2 separate regions of the Homo sapiens genome follow, and region 2 is linked to region 1. The links are contacts of gene promoters, found by promoter capture Hi-C in blood cells and fetal thymus (Javierre and others, 2016). All regions are on one chromosome and are shown on one strand. The core of a region is centred on a gene start or on the middle of the fragment in contact, and the rest is flanking DNA. Distances in the headings are between cores, read along the strand shown. Region 1 holds the start of SH3GL1 (SH3 domain containing GRB2 like 1, endophilin A2). Region 2 holds the start of APBA3 (amyloid beta precursor protein binding family A member 3).

Region 1 (5,827 bases), core at 3,285-5,784:
GAAGCCCAGATACTGAAAGACACTCGAATTTTCCTAAAGACTTGAGGGTGGGCTCGACCTTAGGGTCTGGATGCTGAGTTTTATGTAAATATCTACCTGTGGGGCGGGGTGCCATGGCTCATGCCTGTAATCTCAGCACTTTGGGAGACTGAGGCAGGTAGATCACCCGAGGTCAAGAGTTCGAGACCAGCCTGGCCAACATGGTGAAACCCCGTCTCTACTAAAAATACAAAAAAATTAGCGGGGCATGGTGGTGGGTGCCTGTAATCGCAGCTACTCGGGAGGCTGAGGCAGGAGAATTGCTTGAACAGAGGAGGCGGAGGTTGCAGTGAGCCGAGATCGTGCCATTGTACTCCAGCCTGGGCAACAAGAGAGAAGCTCCGTCTCAAAAACAAACAAACAAACAAAAACAAACTACACATGTGGCTATCTGTGTTTAGCAAACTAGGAAAATCTTTGTTTTATTTTATATTTTACTTTTTTTTTTTTTGAGACGAAGTCTCGCTCTCATCCACCAGGCTGGAGTGCTTCCCAAACTGCTGGGATTAAAGGCGTGAGCCACCACACCTGGCCAAACTAGGAAAATCGTAAGAATGGCTCAGTGGGGATTTTTTTGTTCCTTTGTTTTGGTATAATTATCCTCATTTTTTTTCCAAATCTTCAAGCAGGGTTTCTCAAATTTTGGTACTATTGACATTTGGGGCCAGGTAATTCTTGGGGGCAGTGGGGAGATGCTGCCCTGGGCACCGGAGGATGTCCAGCAATATCGTCTACCTACTAGTAGCCAGCAGCACCGCACCAAGCTGTGACAACCAAAAAGGTCCCAGACATTGTCAATGTCCCCTGGAGGACAGAACTGGCCCTGTTTTACAGGAAGATAAATGTCCCCTAATCCTTTTGTGTAAAAGGGGGAATGTTTTTTACCCTTAGACCGGATAAGCAAGACCAGCTGAGACCTACTGGTATAAAGCATACTGCCTGCTCACATGGTGAGAACTCAATAAATGTTTGTATCACTACGTAATGAGAGATCCCGAGAGATGTCACTTTCCAACAGGCACAGCAGAGGGTGAAAGAGTTGTTATTAGACTAAAAACAAAAAAAGAGACACAAATAGTCGGATACGTCCAGATAACAGCTGAGATGTCAGAGGGAACCATGGCAATGATCACAGAAGAGCATGGAACGCAGCCAGGGTGACTTCTAAGAGCACGACTCAGGACAGAATTGACCAGGAGGCCAAGACGACAGCCCCGAGGGTGGGCTGTGGCCATTGTGCTTTGGGACTAGGCCTCGGGATGTGGAAATAGGCAATCCTAAGCCCAGCTAACACCACACTGTCCTTTCCAGGCTTCAAGGCGCCATTCACAGATCTGAACGCAGGTCATCCTGCTTCCCTTGAGAGAGACAAAGTCCTGGTGGCCGGCACAAGAGGCCTGGTTCATTCCTCTAAAGAGGGTGTCAGCTCAGGACAATATGGGCACAGGCCCTGATCGCTGGGAGTGGGGGTGGTGGCTTCCAGAGACCTGTCTATAGCAGGGAACAAAGTGGCCCAGGAATTCCTCCAAGACCTCTGAGGACATCTTTCCTGCTAGGGAGCAGTACTCTATGGTGCTCTAACCAAGCAGGTGAAGGTCTGACGCCTGCTGGGCAAGGTCTAACCCAGGGCCAGGCCATCTGATTTCAAAGTGCTGGGGCAAGGGGGTGGGACTGTTCTCAGTGACAACTCTAAAATTCGTCTGGATTAAATCTTTCTCCAGGGTTTAACCATCATCTGGGGTGTAGAGATAGACCCTAAGTATCTATATCCCTAAACAACCACTAGGGTTGTTACTTTTTTTATTTATTTTTTGAGACAGGGTCTCACTTTGCTGCCCAGGCTGAAGTGCAGTGGCACGATCATAGTTCACTGCAGCCTTGAACTGCTGGGCTCAAGTGGTCCTCCTGCCTCAGCCTCCCAAGTAGCTGGGACTGCAGGTGCACATCACCACACCTGGCTAACTTTTTCATATTTTGTAGAGATGGGATCTCCCTATATCGCCCAGGCTGGTCTTGAACTCCTGAACTCAAGGGAACCCCTGCCTCAGCCTTCAAAGTGCTGGGATTACAGGCATGAGCCACAGCACCTGGCAGGGTCCTTACTTTTTTCTTTCCAGGGGCAAAGGTACCTGCTGGGTGTTACTGGGGACTCGTTTCTCTTTGCTCCCACTGGGCATCTCCGAACTGTGGGCAGAGAACCCTGTTTGCCACCTTGGCCCAAGCATTTGCTAAGATCATTGCTCATTCCTCGGTGGACTCTATCTACACAAATTCCACACAACCTCACCCTGCAGTACACGGACCAATAGGATTCAACAATCTGAGGCTTCTTGTCTTTTTTTTTTTTTCAAGACGGAGTCTCGCTCTGTCACCCAGGCTGGAGTGCAGTGGTGCAATCTCGGCTCACTGCAACCTCTGCCTGCCGGATTCAAGAGATTCTCCTGTCTCACCCTCCTTAGTAGCTGGGGTTACAGGCAAAAATACAAAATTTTTGTATTGTTAGTAGAGATGGGGTTTTGCCATGTTGCCCAGGCTGCTCTCAAACTCCTGGCTTCAAGTGATCCGCCCGCCTCGGCCTCCCAAACTGCTGGGATTCCAGGCATGAGCCACCGCGCCCGGCCAAATTTGAGGCTTCTTGCATTCGAAATTGCAAAGTGAAAATTTTAAATGTGCCCAGTTTTCTGGAGAGTGGATCCACAGCTTTCACCAGATTCATGAGCAGTGGGCCCTGGAGTTTCCAAAAAAAACCCTTTATCTGTCCATATCAAATGCACTTAGGCTGGGATGCAGCATTCTACTTCTGGGAATTCATCCTATAAAACTAATCCCACTGGTGAGCAAAGATATTCACTGGCTATTTATTGTAGTAATGGTAACAGAAAATTCCGGTAAACAATAGAGATATCTATCAACTGACAACTGGTTAAATAAATTATGGTATATGTCATGGAATGAAATACAATGTACCCATTAAAAAGAGCCAAGTAGGCCAGGCAGGTGGCTTACGTCGATAATCCCAGCATGTTGGGAAGCCGAAGCAGGCGGATTACTTGAGGCCAGGAGTTCGAGACCACCCTGGGGCACATGGAGAAACCCTGTCTCTGCTAAAATTACAAAAAGTAGCCGGGCGTGGTGGCGCATGCCTGTAGTCCCAGCTACTGGGGAGGCTGAGGCAGGAGAATTGCTTGAACACAGGAGGCGGAGCTTGCAGTGAGCCGAGATTGCACCACTGCCCTCCAGCTGGGGCGACAGAGCATGACTCCCTCTCAAAAAAAAAAAAAAAAAAAAAAATCCAAGAAGTGTGGAGTATGGTCTAGAGCAGTAGTCCTGGGGGACAGGAAAGGAAGGGAGGAAGGAAAGAAGAGAAGGGAGGGAGGGAGAGAGGCAAGGAGGGAGGGAGGAAGGAAGGAAAGAAGGAAGGAAGGAACGAAGGGAGGGAAGGAGGACTGATTCTAAGGGGACACACGGTGATGTCTCAAGATATTTTTGGTTGTCACGACTTGGGGGTGCTCCTGGCCCGGAGTGGGTGGAGGCCAGGGGCGCTGCTCAGCACCCCGCAGTGCCCAGGACGGCCCCACCACGGAGAACAATCCAGCCCCAGATGTCAACAGTGCCGACGGAGGGGGAGAAATCCCGCTCCAGTGTGATCTCCAAGCAATGAAAAACACAGCACACAGGATTCTGTGGCATATGCTATCACAGGGTACGTGTTTTTAAAGGAAAGGCACACACGTATCTTAGGAAAGGGACATACGGAGTCGATGACAGTCGCTTGTCTCTGGGGAGAAGGGCTGGCTGCCCGAGGAGCAGAGAGGGGAAACTGACTTCTTCCTCTACCTTTTCAACTTTGTACCTTGCCCATCCAGAGGATTTTGAACGTAACTGCTCTAGACGCAACTTTTCCCTGGCTCTGGGTTATCTGGCAAGAGTCCTGTGTCGACAGCCTCGGGACTCCTCTCTTCCCCTTCTCTCCCCGCACCCCGCCTTTGCAGCGGAGAGAAGGAGGGGAGAGGTCCGCGTCCCTGGGCAGCCCAGGGTGCCTCTCCCCTCCTCCCAGGGGCTCTGTCCCCGCTTCTGGAGCCCGCATGGCGGGCAGGGCCTGGGCCACCTCGTCGCCCCCGTCCGTCCCTTGGTCTTCCCACCTGGCAGGGGACACGCGCCAACGTCCCCACCTCGGTCCCCCCGGCCCCCTCCCGGGCCAGGTCGGGCCTGGCTCCCTCATCCGGGCAGCCCGGGGCCCGGTACTCGGCTCCCGCCTGGGCCTGCGCTCACCTGGCTCGCCTTGTAGAACTGCTTCTTCAGCCCCGCCACCGACATGCTGCCGCCCGCCGCCGAGCCTCCCGCCCGGACCGCGCCAGCGACAGGCTCCCGGGCGCCGCCGACCCTCTGCGCGCCTCAGCAGTCCCCGTCGGCGCCGCCTCCGCCACCCGCTTGCCAGCTCCGCGCCCGCCCCGGCGCCGCCTCAGCCGCTCGCGCGCCCGCGCGGCCAGGATATTACATGGCAACCGCACGCTTCCGGTGCCGGCCCCCGCGCGCGCCCCCGGCCCCCGCGCGCGCCCCCGGCCCCGTCTGCGCACGCGCGCCCTCTGCCGGCTGAAGAGCGCACGTGCACATTGTCTACCGCGGGAGAGGCCGCCTCTGTCAGTGAGTTGAGCGGGGCGAGCCTAGAGGGGCCGTAGCAGTTGCAGCGCCCCCTGGAGTCGTGGAGGTGACCCTAACGTCTTGGAAAACGCGCTTAGTTTAAACCTGGCCAGGGAGGTTGGGAAGTAGAAGGGGCCCCTGCTTACGATTCTTCAGATTCCTGTTTACTCATCTTAGCTAAATCCAGTTCGTCTAAGTGTTCAGCCCCCTCCCATTTTTATTTATTTATTTATTTTTTTTTTGAGACGGAGTCTTGCTTTGTCTCCCAGGCTGGAGTGCAGTGGCGTGATCTCGGCTCACTGCAACCTCCGCCTCCCGGGTTCAAGCGATTCTCCTGCCTCAGCCTCCCAAGTAGCTGAGATTACAGGCGCGCACCACCATGCTAGGCTAATTTTTGTATTTTTAGTAGAGACAGTGTTTCGCCATGTTGGCCAGGCTGGTCTCGAACTCCTGACCTCAGGTGATCCAACCCCCAACCCCCCCACCAAATCCAGCCTCCCAAAGTACTGGTCTCACAGGTATGAGCCACCGTGCCCGGCCACCTCTCTTCCTCTCTCTCTCTGTCCTGTGTTCATCCATTCAGTTGCCCACGTGACACATCTAGACATCTAGGTCTGTCTTCATGCCTTGACCATACTTTCCACCAGTCCTCCCCTCCAATTCTTCCTTGTCATGGCAGCCAGAAAGATGCTTCTAGAATGCAATTCAGGGCCAGGGGCGGTGGCTCACGCCTGTAATCCCAGCACTTTGGGAGGCCTAGGTGGGCGGATCACGAGGTCAGGAGATTGAGACCATCCTGGCTAACACGGTGAAACCCTGTCTCTACTAAAAAATAGAAAAAATTAGCCGGACGTGGTGGCGGGCGCCTGTGGTCCCAGCTACTAGGGACTCCGTCTCAAGAAAAAAGAAAGAAAGAAAGGAAGGAAGGAAGGAAGGAAGGAAGGAAGGAAGGAAGAAAGAAAGAAAGAAAACCTGTTTCTACACTCACAGGCTGACACTGAAGTTCTCTGTTTTGTGTGAGGCTTTTAATCTGCTTGATCTACACAGTTCAATCAAATATTTATACATTCACTCAAACATTTATTGACCTGGTAAATATGATCAGTTACTAACAGGTCCTGGGGTTCCAGTGAGGAATGAGTCCTAC
Region 2 (5,548 bases), core at 1-2,500, 640 kb before region 1:
TGACTCTACCGACTGGTCAGAGGCAGTTCCCCAAGACCCCAGACCCAAGACCCCAGTCCCATGACCTCAACCCCCAATACCTCCATCCAGAACTTTAGACCCAGGACCCTGGACTTAATACCAGAGACCCAAGACGCCATAAGGCGGACCCCAGTCTCCAAACCTCCAATGCTACCCCAAGATCGACTCCAGACTCAGACCCCGACTTCAGGACCCAGCCCCAAGCCCAGACCCTAGTCCCCCCTCAGACCGAAGACCTCAAGCGCCGACTCAGACTGCGCTCTGCACCTCGAGGACACTCACTTCCCAAATCGAGGCCGCCTCAGCCCCGCGCAGCCTCCAGGACCCCGCTCCCCACGGACGGCCCCGACGTAGCCCGGGCCGCGTCCCCAGAAGGCGCAGCTCGGGGATTCCCGGTCCCGGCGCCCGCTCCTCTATCCGCGCAGAGCCCTGGCCCATTGAGCATGCGCGGCCTCGCGAGGCCTGCTGGGAAATGTAGTTCTCCCACCCAGCCTCGCCACGCGGGGGCGCTGGGACAACTGCAGATGTTGGAGGGGAGTTCGAATCCCAGGCTTCCCGGCCCGCAGACTGCCCCGGCTGGCCCCAGGACCTGTTTGTTCTCCTGCAAAATAGGGTTAATAATCACTGCCTGGCTCTGGGGGCTGTGTTCATTATTCCAAAGGATGGCAGATGGGGAGAAGTGGGGTTGGGAAATATTAAAGAAGTGTGAGAGGTGGTTTCCTTGGGACCTTGAGGCACCGGAAGCGTCGTGGAGACCCTGTTAAAGACGGACTTTCGGTTTGGCTCACAGTAGGGAGACACATAGGTGCACCATGGATTTGGGGTCGGCCTGGGAACTTTACCTCCCTGAGAACTCAGTTTCCTCATTATAAGCTGGGGAAAAAATAGTACCTACCTCTCAATTGTGAGGATTAAATTAGATCAAGCGGGTTAAGGATTTAGCAGTAGTAGAGCTGGAAAAGAATATATAAAATATATATTATTAATTTATATATTATATATAAAACATACTATATATTATATGTATTATATATGTTATATATAATTTTAAAAATATAATGTTATAAAAATTAACAGTGATTAGACTCCAGCCCTACTGGAGTATATTAGACTCATTGTTAATCTTCTTTTTTTAACTTTAAAGCTTTGAATAATTACTCATTGGATGGAATCAGGAACATATAAAGTGTGATATTTTTAGTAAATGTTATGTAATTGAAGAAGGGCAAGAAGTCAATGAAATATCCCTTGAACGCCTCCTCCTATAGTAACTGTGTATGTCTACAAAAGTCTGAAGAAATCACCATAGATTATGAAAGCTTGGGAGACCGCATTTCCCAGACACCTCCACGGGGCCTACACTTCCACGGGGCCTACAACTCCCAAACACCCTTGGGCCACTGACGTCTTCCGGAAACGTGCACTTGCAAGCTGCCCGCAATACGTCATGGCGACCAAACGCCTTTTCGGGGCTACCCGGACGTGGGCCGGCTGGGGGGCCTGGGAGCTCCTAAACCCCGCCACTTCCGGAAGACTCCTGGCCCGGGATTATGCCAAGAAACCAGGTGAGCTGGGTTAAGAGGAACCAAATGGGGACGGTGGGTGCACTGAGGAATTGACAGTGCGCAGGCGGTGGTTGGGGAGGTGGTGCTAGAACTGATGCGCAAGCGCAGAGAGGCGGATGCCAGGCTGTATGCGCAGGCGCAGTTTGAGGGACCCAGCGCCGCTTGGAGCTCGGGCGTCTGGCTCGGAGATACTGTAGCGATTGGACCCAGGGCGCAGGCGCCAGCTTGGGGCGGAGCGGCCTGGGAGGAGGATGTGGTTACGTGGAGACCACGCGTTTCACTGCGCAGGCGCGGGTTGGAAAGGATTTGAAGGGAGTCTGGGGAGGTCATGAACTTGGGTTCCAGTTCTGTTTCTCTGCCTGCCTCCAAATCGCTGGGTAACCTTGGCCAAGACGTTACCAAACATTCAAAGAAATTATGGAGCCCGTTTAATTGGCCACTTCAGCAAGAACAAAACAAGGTTATTAAGGTTTAGCTGGATACAGCCTTGCCTGATCTCCTTTGTTGAAAGGGGGAAATTGTCCAATGTTCGGCCTTAAAGACAGACACATAGCAGACAAAATATAACTTGAATGACTTGGTCATTCCAAGCATCGGTGTTACTTAATGCTATGTCCAAATCCCACTTAAAGTTACTTAATGCTGTGTCCAAATCCCACTTAAAGTGATTTCGAGGCCAGGCATGATGGCTCACACCTTTATTCCCGGCACTTTGGGAAGCCAAGGAGGGAGGATCGATTGCTTGAACCCAGGAGTTCGAGACCAGCCTGGGCAACATAGCAGGACCCTGTTTGTATAAAAAAAAAAAAAAATTGCCTGGCGCGGTAGCTCACGCCTGTAATCCCAGCACTTTGGGAGGCTGATGCAGGTGGATCACAAGGTCAGGAATTCAAGATCAGCCTGACCAACATGGTGAAACCCTAGCTCTACTAAAAATACAAAAATTAGTGGGGCATGGTGGCACATGTCTGTAATCCCAGCTACTCAGGAGGCTGAGGCAGGAGAACTGCTTGAACCCAGGAGGCGGAGGTTGCAGTGAGCCGAGATCACGCCACTGCACTCCAGCCTGGGCGACACAGTGAGACTCTGTCTCAAAATAAATAAATAAATAAATAAAAATAAAAATAAGCGGGGCATGGTGGCTCACAACTGTGATCTCAGCTACTTGGGAGGCTGAGGCAGAAGGATCACTTGAGCCTGGGAGTTTGAGGCTGCAGTGAGCCATGATTGTGCCCCTGCCCTCCAGCCTGGGCTTTTATTTTTTATTTTTTTATTTTCTTCAGACGGAGTCTCGCTCTGTCGCCCAGGCTGGAGTGTGCAGTGGCGCAATCTTGGCTCACTGCAAGCTCCGCCTCCTGGGTTCACGCCATTCTCCTGCCTCAGCCTCCCAAGTAGCTGGGACCACAGGTGCCCACCACCATGCCCGGCTAATGTTTTTGTATTTTTAGTAGAGATGGAATTTCACCATGTTAGCCAGGATGGTCTCAACCTCCTGACCTCGTGATCCGCCCACCTTGGCCTCCCAAAGAGCTGGGATTACAGGCGTGAGCCGCCGCGCCCGGCCGGGCTGTCTTTATTTTTTAATTTTTTAGATTTTTTATTTTTTTGAGATGGAATCTTGCTCTGTAACCTAGGCTGGAGTGCAGCGATGCGATCTCAGCTCACTGCAACCTCCGCCTCCCGGGTTCAAGTGATTCTCCTGCCTCAGCCTCCCGAGTAGCTGGGATCACAGGCATATGCCACCATGCCCAGCTAATTTTTTTTTTTGTATTTTTAGTAGAGACAAGTTTTCACCATGTTGGCCAGGCTGGTCTTAAACTCACCTGACCTCAGGTGATCTTCCCACCTCGGCCTCCCAGAGTGCTGGGATTACAGGCATGAGCCACTATGCCTGGCTGAGACCCTGTCTTTAAAAAAAAGTTTTGAGTGGCCGGGCGCGGTGGCTCACGCCTGTAATCCCAACACTTTGGGAGGCCAAGGTGGGCAGATCACGAGGTCAGGAGATCGAGACCATCCTGGCTAACACGGTGAAACCCCGTCTCTACTAAAAATACAAAAAATTAGCTGGGCGTGGTGGTGGGCGCCTGTAGTCCCAGCTACTTGGGAGGCTGAGGCAGGAGAATGGCTTGAACCCGGGAGGCGGAGCTTGCAGTGAGCTGAGACTGCGCCACTGCACTCCACCTGGGCAACAGAGCGAGACTCCGTCTCAAAAAAAAAAAAAAAGAAAGTTTTGAGTGTAGCAGAGTCCAGCCAGGGGCAGAGGCCACCTGAGACAGGGTTCTGTGAGAGAAGTTTGGCTTCCAGAGGAGGGGCTGGGCTGAAATGACTCTCCCTCTCGTCTCCCCAGTTATGAAGGGGGCCAAATCGGGAAAAGGTGCAGTGACCAGCGAGGCCCTCAAGGACCCCGACGTATGCACAGATCCTGTCCAGCTCACCACATATGCCATGGGCGTCAACATCTACAAGGAAGGGCAGGATGTACCCCTGAAACCGGATGCTGAGTACCCTGAATGGTGAGTAGGCCAGGCTGTGTCATCCTGCAATGACTATTCCTTCCTCCGCCCCAGGAGGACCCCTTCCCGGAGAGGCGGATCGCCACTCCAGCCGGAGCCTAATAGTCACACCTACCCATCCTGGCTTTAGGGCAGGGGGCTTCAGGGCTCTGCCCATCTGTAATGGGGTGATGGGACCCATCCCTCCCTCAGAGGGCTGTGAGGAATTCATGAGATTAGAACACATGTCAAGTACCTAAAACAATGCTTTATCTTAAGCAAATACTTAAAAAAAATTTTTTTTCAGGCTGGGCGCCGTGGCTCACACCTGTAATCCCAGCACTTTGGGAGGCAAGGCGTTTGGATCACCTGAGGTCAGGAGTTCGAGACCAGCCTGGCCAACATGGTGAAACCTCGTCTCTACTAAAAATATAAAAATTAGCCGGGTGTGGTGGCACATTCCTGTAGTCCCAGTTACTTGGGAGGCTGAGGCACGAGAATTGCTTGAGCCTGGGAGGCAGAGGTTGCAGTGAGCTGAGATCACGCCATTGTACTCCAGCCTGGGCAACAGAGTGAGACTTGGTCTCAAAAAAAAAAAAAAAAATTTTTTTTTTTCTTCTATATGGAGTCTTGCTCTGTCACCCAGTGTGGAATGCAGTCATGTGGTCTTGGCTCACTGCAACCTCTGCCTCCTGGGTTCAAGCGGTTCTCCTGCCTCAGCCTTCAGAGTAGCTGGGATTACAGGCATGCGCCACCATGCCTGGCTAATTTTTTTTTTTTTTTGAGATGGAGTTTTGCTCTTGTCGCCCAGGCTGGAGTGCAGTGGTGTGATCTTGGCTCACTGCAACCTCCACCTCCCAGTGTTCCAATGATTCTCCTGCCTCAGCCTCCCGAGTAGCTGGGATTACAGGTGCCCGCCGTCACACCCAGCTAATTTTTGTATTTTTAGTAGAGACAGGGTTTCACCATGTTTGCCAGGCTAGTCTCGAACTCCTGATAACCTCGTGATCCGCCTGCCCTGGCCTCCCAAAGTGCTGGGATTACAGGCGTGAGCCACCACGCCTGGCCTAATTTTGTATTTTTAGTAGAGACAGGGTTTCTCCATGTTGGCCAGGCTGGTCTTGAACTCCTGACCTCAGGTGATCCGCCCACCTCGGCCTCCCAAAGTGCTGGGAGTACAGGCGTGAGCCGCCGCACCCGTCCTGCAAATACTTATTGACCACTGACTGCATGCCAGGCCCTGCTCTAGGCTTGAGGGATACAGAAGGGCTCAAAACAGACACAAGTCCCCACCCTGGCGGAGCTAGCTGGGGAGGCAGACAGGAAGGAGGAAGTCAGGCAGCTGTGGTGGTGACACTTCCAGGAAGGGGGCAGGAGAATGAGGGACAGAGCCGGGGTGTTTGGCTGCTCTAGTTTGAGGTTTGGGGGACACAGAAGCCAAGACGGGAGTGGGTGGAAGGGGCTTTCCAG

Evidence for each region. The method cuts DNA at HindIII sites, captures the fragments that hold promoters and counts their contacts. A CHiCAGO score of 5 or more calls a contact.
Region 2: a contact is called between a fragment that was not itself captured here and the fragment with the promoter of SH3GL1 in region 1, in 3 of 17 cell types (total B cells, naive CD8 T cells and naive CD4 T cells). The highest score is 6.5, in total B cells.

What each region holds. Positions count from the first base shown.
Region 1 is chr19:4,396,013-4,401,839 of GRCh38, forward strand. SH3GL1 (SH3 domain containing GRB2 like 1, endophilin A2) reads right to left here and starts at 4,535. Exons shown (of 10, transcript NM_003025.4): 1 at 4,312-4,535. The coding sequence starts at 4,356. RefSeq lists an enhancer at 3,896-4,725 and silencers at 4,014-4,063, 4,124-4,633. The HindIII fragment of the contact is 26,532 bases long and covers 1-5,827 here.
Region 2 is chr19:3,761,233-3,766,780 of GRCh38, forward strand. It overlaps APBA3 (amyloid beta precursor protein binding family A member 3), which reads right to left and starts at 460. Exons shown (of 11, transcript NM_004886.4): 1 at 304-460. It overlaps MRPL54 (mitochondrial ribosomal protein L54), which reads left to right and starts at 1,450. Exons shown (of 3, transcript NM_172251.3): 1 at 1,450-1,586; 2 at 3,934-4,099. The coding sequence starts at 1,469. It overlaps LOC105372248 (a long non-coding RNA gene), which reads right to left and starts at 1,408. Exons shown (of 3, transcript XR_936268.1): 1 at 1,326-1,408; 2 at 917-974; 3 at 522-622. RefSeq lists a silencer at 345-662 and an enhancer at 1,324-1,813. The HindIII fragment of the contact is 175 bases long and covers 1,164-1,338 here.